Regions from separate parts of the Homo sapiens genome. Here region 1 is linked to region 2. The links are contacts of gene promoters, found by promoter capture Hi-C in blood cells and fetal thymus (Javierre and others, 2016). All regions are on one chromosome and are shown on one strand. The core of a region is centred on a gene start or on the middle of the fragment in contact, and the rest is flanking DNA. Distances in the headings are between cores, read along the strand shown.

The links. The method cuts DNA at HindIII sites, captures the fragments that hold promoters and counts their contacts. A CHiCAGO score of 5 or more calls a contact.
Region 1: a fragment that was not itself captured here is called in contact with the fragment with the promoter of LINC00479 in region 2 in 1 of 17 cell types (M2 macrophages); the score reaches 12.3 in M2 macrophages.

What each region holds. Positions count from the first base shown.
Region 1 is chr21:41,613,221-41,617,509 of GRCh38, forward strand. No RefSeq gene overlaps it. Among named protein-coding and RNA genes, the nearest start is that of PCSEAT, 35 kb to the left of the region's middle. RefSeq lists an enhancer at 1-48. The HindIII fragment of the contact is 4,608 bases long and covers 1-3,736 here.
Region 2 is chr21:41,713,482-41,717,644 of GRCh38, forward strand. It overlaps LINC00479 (long intergenic non-protein coding RNA 479), which reads right to left and starts at 2,294. Exons shown (of 6, transcript NR_027272.1): 1 at 2,261-2,294; 2 at 1,639-1,802; 3 at 753-871; 4 at 539-651; 5 at 70-191. LINC00112 (long intergenic non-protein coding RNA 112) reads left to right here and starts at 2,955. Exons shown (of 3, transcript NR_024028.2): 1 at 2,955-3,063; 2 at 3,520-3,693; 3 at 3,861-4,101. The HindIII fragment of the contact is 7,368 bases long and covers 1-4,106 here.

The DNA.
Region 1 (4,289 bases), core at 183-2,682, 100 kb before region 2:
CGTGAACGGGAGGCCAGGATGGCCACAGGCCCCAGGAAACGCAGATCTCATGGGAAGAGGTTGCAGTTTCAGCTTCTGGCTGTGGATGCTCCGGGCAATTTCATGCATTTCCATGAGTTCAGAGAATGGAAGCTCCCCTGGCCCCTCCCTACCACTCTTTGTAAATCAGCTCGCTCCTTCTGTTCATTCATCCGCTCATTCATCCATTCCGCACACGTGCCTTATTGAATCCCTGCTATGACCAGGCACAGGGTTAGATACTCCATGGAGACCAGACCAGTCTTAGCCTCTGCACTGATGAACTCAACCCAGAAGACACACGAAAAGATAAGCCACGGTGTGACGGGCGGACGACAGAGCCTGCGCCGAGACACGGGCACTTCAGCTTGATATGTGGAGAGTGTCGGCTGCAAACCTCCCTGGTCTCTGCCGCCAGACGCATGCCAAGATGGCCTGATTACACTGGGGAAATTTCGAATGGGCCATTGAAATGCGTGGTGTGATTGTTGCCATGGATTTTACGGTCTGGTGGCCTGTTCCGTGCTGGTCAGGCTGACGTCTGTGCTTGGCACAGCATGGTGAGAGACAGGCAGGTGTGGTTGATGCCTCTGGGAGGGAGCACATAATCCAGGAAAGGGGGCAGTAAACCAGGCGATGGGAACTGCAACGGAGCAGAGGCCACGGGAGAAGCCCCAGCGGGGAGCACACCTGAGAGGGACAGTGGGAGGAGCGAGGCCTGAAACCGGAGGAGGAGCAGCAGAGCCCCCACAGAGGACAGCGGAAAGGAGACCTGAGTGGGGAAGAGCTCGGCTCCTTCCAGTCCCCCAGGGACCCAGGTTGGGGCAGAGGGGCCATCGGGCCTGTAACCTTGCAGTGCCATCATGGCCCTGGGTAGAGTTTGGGTCTTATTCTAGGAAGCGTGGGGGCTTGGAATGTCCTGGATGCCACCTGTTTCCTGTGTGGCAGGCAGAGTGAAGACCCCACCATTCCACCAAGATGCCTCCACCCTAGCCCTATTCGCCGTGAGTGCATCATATCACATGCAGAGGGGAGTTGGGGTTGCAGGTGGAACTGGATTGGTGAACACCACCCTTAACCTAAGGAGGAGATCCTGGGGGATCCCGCAGGCCCAGAGTCCTCACAGTGTTCTTAAAAGGGAACTAGCAGCCAGAAGTGTGGCAGTGAGGACCTGATCCAACGTCATTGGCTTTGAAGAGGGAGGAAGGGCCCATGGGCCTAGAAATGAGGACAGCCCCTGGAAGCTGAGAAAGGCGAGGAACAGATTCTGCCCTGGATCCTCCAGGAGGAGCCGGCCCTAGGTCTTAGCCCAGTGAGACCCGTCACAGACTCCCGACCTCCAGCAATGCATTAAATATGCTGTTCATGCTGCTGAGTTTGTGGTCGTTTGCAGGAAGCTGATACACCCTGGCACAAACTCCTTCTCCTCATCTACACTTTAGCACAGAGCCGTTAAATAAATGCATGTGCCTATGAACAGGTGCATTCCAACAGCCCTCAGGCCCTGCGTGTGTGGGTGACGGTGGAGTGACAGGAATGCAAGACACAGAGTGGTCTGTGCAGCCTCCTCCCCCGCACTCAGTGCAGGGTGGGCAAGGGGGATGCTGGCGGGTCCACCGTGTCCAACAGGGAGCAGGCGGCATCTCTAGCCAGGCTCGGGGCCACAGTGGGGGAGTGGGGTTTCAGAGTGAGGCAGATCTGGATCTAAATCACCTTTACAGAATGGCTTTTGCCACATAAGGTCACATATTCACAAGTCCCAGAGATTAGAACAGGCACATTTTGGGGGCCATGATTCTGCTCATCCATATAGAGAACCCCCTTATTATTTTTCACAGGTAAATAGTATTTTATAGTGGGGGAGTTCTGTAAAGGTTTAGCTACTCCTCTATTAAGAATATTTGGCTTCTGGCCAGGGGCTCACATCTGTAATCCCAGCACTTTGGAAGGCTGAAGCCAGAAGATTATTTGAGGCCAGGAGTTTGAGACCAGACTGGGCAACATAGCAAGACACTGTACTTAAAAGATATTTTAAAGAATTTTTTTTAATTAGCCAAATGTGTTGGTGCGCACCTGTAGTCCCAGCTACTTGGGAGGCTAAGGTGAGAAGATTGCTTGAGTCAGTGAGTTCGAGGCTTCAGTGAGCTGTGACTCCTGCCATGGCACTCCAGCTCCAGCCTGGGCAACAGGGAAAGACCCTGTCTCAAAGAAAAGAAAAAGGAATATTTGGCTTCTTTCCAGTCTTTCACCATTATTTAAAATGCCACAAGAAATCATCTCATGCACAATATCATTTTGCACATGTGCAAACAGAGCTGGAGGGCAGATTCCCAGAAGCATAAGCGTCTGGTCAAAAGGTGGATATGCATTCATAGCTTTGCTGGAAATTGCCACTTTGCCTCCAATTTGTACTCTGCCAGCAATATGTGAAAGTATCTGTTTCCCCACTGCCTGCCTAAGGGAGTGTATGTCTCACTTTTGTGTTGTTGCCAATCCAGAAGAAGCATATTGCGTAGACTTTCATTTGAGACTCCATCTTTCTGTGTGGTTTGGCAGAAGACTGGGGGAACATTCTTATACTGGCTCTAAATGGAATGCAAGGATACTGCATTAACTTATGACTCAGTAAAGTAATTTATTTTGGGGAGCTAAAATAATCAGTTTGCTGCTTTCTCATGATTTTTAACTTGAAGCAACATGAAACTGGGAAAATAAAAATGGATAGCAAGACTTTTAGACAATGTCTGTTCAGTGATGTTTCAAACATATTTTTGGCAGGAACTAGAAATCAGTCCATGTAGCCCAAGAATGATGCCAATTCCATATTCTGTGTTGCTGATTATAAAGGAAGCAAAATGTTCCAGTAAGCAGATGCAAAAGCAGCCATCAGCTCTCAGATACAGGAGCAGATGAGCTGGAGACGTCCTCACGCGAGCACCGGCCGCTCTTCCCCATGCTGTGGGCAGCTTGCCTGTGGGAAAGGCCAAAGATTCCTTAAAAAGAGATTCAAATCTGCTCAAGTGCCAGGATAAGCATTTAATCAGGAGCCCAGCATCCTGCTCCCCAATGAGTGGGGAAGATTTTCTAGGCCTGGAAAGTTTTTAAGAGGTAATGTGCTATTCTTAGTCATAACAAATGAAAGACAACCCACATGTCCAGCCAGGCAGGATGGCCAATGGGCTGTTCAGTTGCCAGCTGCCTTCCCAGCCCTCCGGGACAGAGTCTCCTGTGATTCTGGCAGCATCCCCAGGACAGAGCCCTCAGGACCAAGGTAGAAAGCGCTTGGGCAGGGCAGTGGTCTCCCAGTCAGCAGGCAGACCTCCTGGGACCACGGGGTCAGATGTGGGGCCTGAATGACTCCTGAGTCACAGCCCTGTCCCCTCTGACATCTCCCACTCCAATGCCATGGTCTGGCCACGTGCCTTGGCTTCCCTTCCTACACTTCAGTGGTCTAAGAGGATAATTCCAAGAGCCCCTAATCTAGCTCTGGTCTGCCCCTCGTCTGAAGACTAGATTCCTCCACTCACTGCCTAATACACCTGGGCTCCATCCTGTGAATGAAGTAAGTTGTTCAGAGCTACAGTCAAAGCTGCGAGCGGGAATTCTCACAGCTCCTGGGATCTCTCACCAGTTCCAACAAACTTCCCACCTCTCCAAGTCAGACTAAGCCTGAGATGTGTAACCTTCAGCTTAGTCTGCCTTAAACCAGCATTTCCCAAGCTTACATTTAGAGATCCTCTTTTTAAAAAAATCCTGTGGACTCCTAAGTTTTTGTTAAAGTATTTTTATTTTACTGCTACTTGTATGTGTGGCAACACTAGAGGACTTACAAATATATTACGTTGATAGCTCTTTTAGTTTTTTGTTGTTTTGTTGTTTCTTTTCTTTTCTTTTCTTTTTAGAGACAGTCTTGCTTGTTGCCCAGGCTGGAGTGCAGTGGTGTGATCACAGCTCATTACAACCTCAATCACCTGGGCTCAAGTAAGCCTCCCATCTCAGCCTCCTGAGTAGCTGGGACCACAGGTGTGTGGCACATTACCCAGCCATGATAGGTCTTATGTAAATAAAAATCAAAGAGATTTATCAATGAAATTAGAATACAACACCAATACATTTCAAATTAACAATGTAAGCTTAATTTGATGGATTATGCTATTTTGTTAAAACTGAGTCACCAATGCTGGGTTCACATTTTTAAAATACCCATATTTGTGTTCTATATTTTACTTATAGATTTAGTCCTTTTGATTTTGAGAATAATGACCCTCTTT
Region 2 (4,163 bases), core at 1,044-3,543:
CCCTCTCCTCCTTGGAGCCCCATCCACAAGAGCAGCTTCTGCAGATGTGGGAAGGAGAAGACTTTGTACCTGGGTCCCAGGCCACGTGAATAATTAACCCTGTCTAGGGAGCCTTGGAGGTCTGATGAGGCCAGGGCTTGAAGGAGAGCCGCGGAGCACGCCAGGATCCAGGCTTGTGGGTAGCAGCATCCCTGGAAATGGTCCCCAGTGGGGGAGGAACCAGTAGCCATCACCTCCAACCCCCAGCCACCGCCCCGCGCCATGTGAGTGAGGTGGCATCTGGTTTTCCACACACACCTCCCCATGTCGCTGGACGCAGGCAAGGCCACCCAACCCCCAAGCCAGAGTCACCCGGACAGACGGATACTAGGCACCTTAGCACTTCCATGGCCAGAGGCCTCCTGAGGTGGGAACCGGGTCCTAGCCCATCCCAGGCCATCCCCTCCAGGACCTTCCTGGAGGAGCGGGGAGACCAGACTTAGAGGAAGGCTCCATGTCCCAGGTCCAGACAGGGGTGAGGGGGAAGAGGGGTGAGCACCTGTGTTAGGCACTTTGAACTCTCCAGGTCAGGTGACTGCATCCAGCTGAGACTCCTGGCCTCCCTCCAGCGTGGAATGAGCAGCCGGTCCTGTCCCGTCCACCCCTCCAGTGCTGCGGAACAGAACGGGAATGGCAAGTCCCCATGTGCTGTCTCCCCGCCCTTCTACAGCACCGGTGGCACAAATGCTGGGGACAGTGCCGGCCCCACTCACAGGAGAGCTGCTGGGCTGGCTCCAAGGCTCCTCCGTCCATGGCTGCTGGGCTGGCTCGGAGGCTGCCTCCGTCCATGGTCTCTGCAGTGGACAGTCTGTGTCACGCCTCCATCTGTGGTCTTTGCAGTGGACAGTCTGTGTGACGCCTCCTCCGTCCATGGTTTTTGCAGTGGACAGTCTGTGTCATGCCTCCATCCATGTCTTCCAGCAACACCACCTCACTCTGCTTTACACAATCACTCCACCTCCGTGTAATGCCCAACCTTGTTTTTCCTTTATTCACCTAGCCTTGCTTCTCCCTTAGCTGAGAGAGTCACACAAACTCCATCTTGGCTCTTTCACCGGCAGCCCCTTCCTCAAGGACTTAACTTGTGCAAGCTGACTCCCAGCACATCCAAGAATGCAGTTAACTGATAAGATACTGTGGCGAGCTAGATCCGCAGTTCCCAGGAATTTGTCCGAATGATAACGCCCGAAGCCCCGCGTCTATCACCTTGTAATAGTCTTAAAGCCCCTGCACCTGGAACTGTTTACTTTCCTGTAACCATTTGTCCTTTTAACTTTTTGACTACTTAACTTCTGTAAAATTGTTCTAACTAGACCCCCCTCCCCTTCCTAAACCAAGATGTAAAAGTTAATCAAGCCCCTTCCTCGGGGCCAAGAGAATTTTGAGCGTTAGCTGTCTCTTGGTTGCCAGCTAATAGAGGACTCCTAATTCATCTCAAAGTGTGGCGTTTTTCTAACTCGCTCAGGTACAACATCCCCACATGCCCTGCCCCCGCTTTGTATGCACACAGCACACACCTGTGCACATACAAACATCTGCTTTCACACATGGACACACTCACTGAGGTGAAGAGGCACACTCAGGCACACACACACTCACATTTGGTACATGCAGCTCCTGAGGGGCAAGGCTGAGCTCCTTCTCAGGAACGGACACAAGACTGAGGGCTGGGTCACTCAGATACTTTGCCCCTCGGGCCCCACGGATTGATTTAGGGGTGAACTGTGAATCCCTGGGAGATTCCTTCCTGCCACGCATTCCTGCTGATGGGAAACAAAGCGGTCTTTGAGGGATGCTGGAGGAGGCAGCAGTTTGTGATAAAGAGCTGTGAGAGGAGAAGCCCCTTTGCCACCTGCCCTCCTTTGTGCATTGGATGTTGTCCTCAATGGACGTGATGCCTGGAGTCCCTGCAGCCATCTTGCCTCCATGGGGCAAGCCAGGAAAACCTCACCGACTTAATGGCTTCCCTCCAGCCTTTCCAAAGCCTTGCTCTGGTCTCAGAGAGTTAGGAATTCTGTCACTTAAGGCCCAGAGCATCCTGCTGCTCCCTTCACTCCAGAACCAGAGCCACACGGCTAACAGGCAAAGGGTCAGGAACATAGCCCGTGTTTTCTGCTCTCGGCACTTGGTCATTCTGCATAGAATTTGGCTCCAAGGCCTGGCCTGACACCTTCGCACCAAGGTGCCGTAAATGAAACCTTTACTCCTGAGACTTCCTCACCTCTGCGTTCCCAGGGATCCACAATCTTCTATTTGTAAAATGATTCCCGGTTGTCATGGAGACCAGGGCACCGCAGTGGAGCTGGAATGTTAGGTGGGGTCCAAGGTTCAGTCCTGGGGGTAGGGAGTGGGGCAGGCAGCTTCACTGGGCCCTTTATCTGCCTGATTCTCATCTTTCTTACACAATAGTCTACTCATTATTCCTTCCCTAAGGGCCAGGACACAGGCCTGCCTGGGGTTACAGTCCCTGTCTTTACAAGTCCTCTCCTTCTGGCTCTTGGGCGTGCCTGAGCTCAAAGGAGCCTCCAAGCAAACTTGGCAGGGGGTGTCCCCCAGGGCAGAGGTGGGGCCCTGGCTCAGCACCCCCAGAAACCACAAGGTGGGGGCGGAGGATCCTGCACCTGACCTTCACCTTCGTGTGGATCAGATCAGAGCAGAAGTTCTATTTCTGGAACTGTCAGACCTGCTGACCTCCAGTCAATGGCAGAGGCAGGAAGGCAGGCAGAAATACAAGATGCAGCTCTTGTTACACCTCCTGCACAGACCAACCTAGTCTCGGCTCCACACAGCCACTCACTCTTTCACTCAACACGTGTTTCCGAGCATCTTCTATGTGCCTTTTCTCTATCATCAGATGGGGGCCCCTGCGGTGGGCAGAATAACGGCCACTGCAAAGATGCCAAATCTTATCCCCAGAGCTTCCGCAGAGATCCTGCAGATGTGATTCGAGTCTTCCAGCAACACCACCTCACTCTGCTTTGCACAATCACTCCACCTCCCCACATGTTGCGGAGATTCTCCTGGGTCAGTCGGGGGGTCCAGTGTCATCCTAGGGTCCTTATGAGAGGGAGGAAGGGAGGCGGAGGAGGAGATGCAAGGATGAAGCGAAGGTTGGAGTGATGTGGTCTGCTGCGGGGACCCTGAGGCGTGCAGGCGGCCTCTGGAAGCTGAAAAGACAGGAAGGCAGCTTCTCCCCTGAGCCTCCAGAAGAACCCGGCCCTGCTGACACTGGCCCAGGAGCCCCTTCCCCCATCAGGGCCTGGAGAGGGAAGAAATGACTGTTCACAGATTTTACCCCGCAAGACCCATTTCAGCATTCTGATTTTGAGAACCATAAGACAGTGTGTGTTGTTTAAGCCTCCAAGTCTGTGGATATTCATTACAGCAGCCTTGGGAAACTGACACCACCTCCCCCTAATCCTCCCTCCCGCCCCCACCTACACCTGAACCCTCCCCTTGCTCTTCTCTGCCGATTCACAGGGATTCACACTCTTCCTACTTGCAGCTGTGACACGGGAAACATCCTCCACCAGGTCTTCTCTCACAGTGTGGCCTCTGCGCACAGGTTATCCACCTGTAGACCTGGACGGGACCCTCGAGGCTCCCTACTCTGACCATCTGGTTTTATAGTTGAGGAACCAGAAGCCGAGGCAGGTAACTTGGTGCAGCCTAAAGGCCTCCATCCCTCCAGTGCCCACAACTTAGGTGCCCACGACAACAACACTGGCCTACCGCAAAGACCCAGCCCAGAGGAACAAGGTGCCACTGTATGTCTGAAAAGGGGGCCCTCGGCCTCACTGGGGAGCACCTTCCTCCATCAGGGTCTCGACGGTGAAGAAGCAGGCTGTTTCCATCTTCAGGATACAAGCCATCTGCGCATAGGAAGAGGGTCCAGAGGCTCATCTGGAATCCCTCCTCACTCACTGGACGGAGGACCTGACCCCGTTCCCATCATTGGTTCTGAATCCATCAGCCCAGCAAGACAGGTGTCTCCAGCAAGTTCTGTAAAATACAACCATAGCCGGGCCTGGAGTCAGCCCCCAATAAAGGGTTCACCATGGAGTCAAAGCTTCCTTCACATTGGGAAGAGCCTGATGATGCCGCCTTGGTGCCACCCGTGCAGG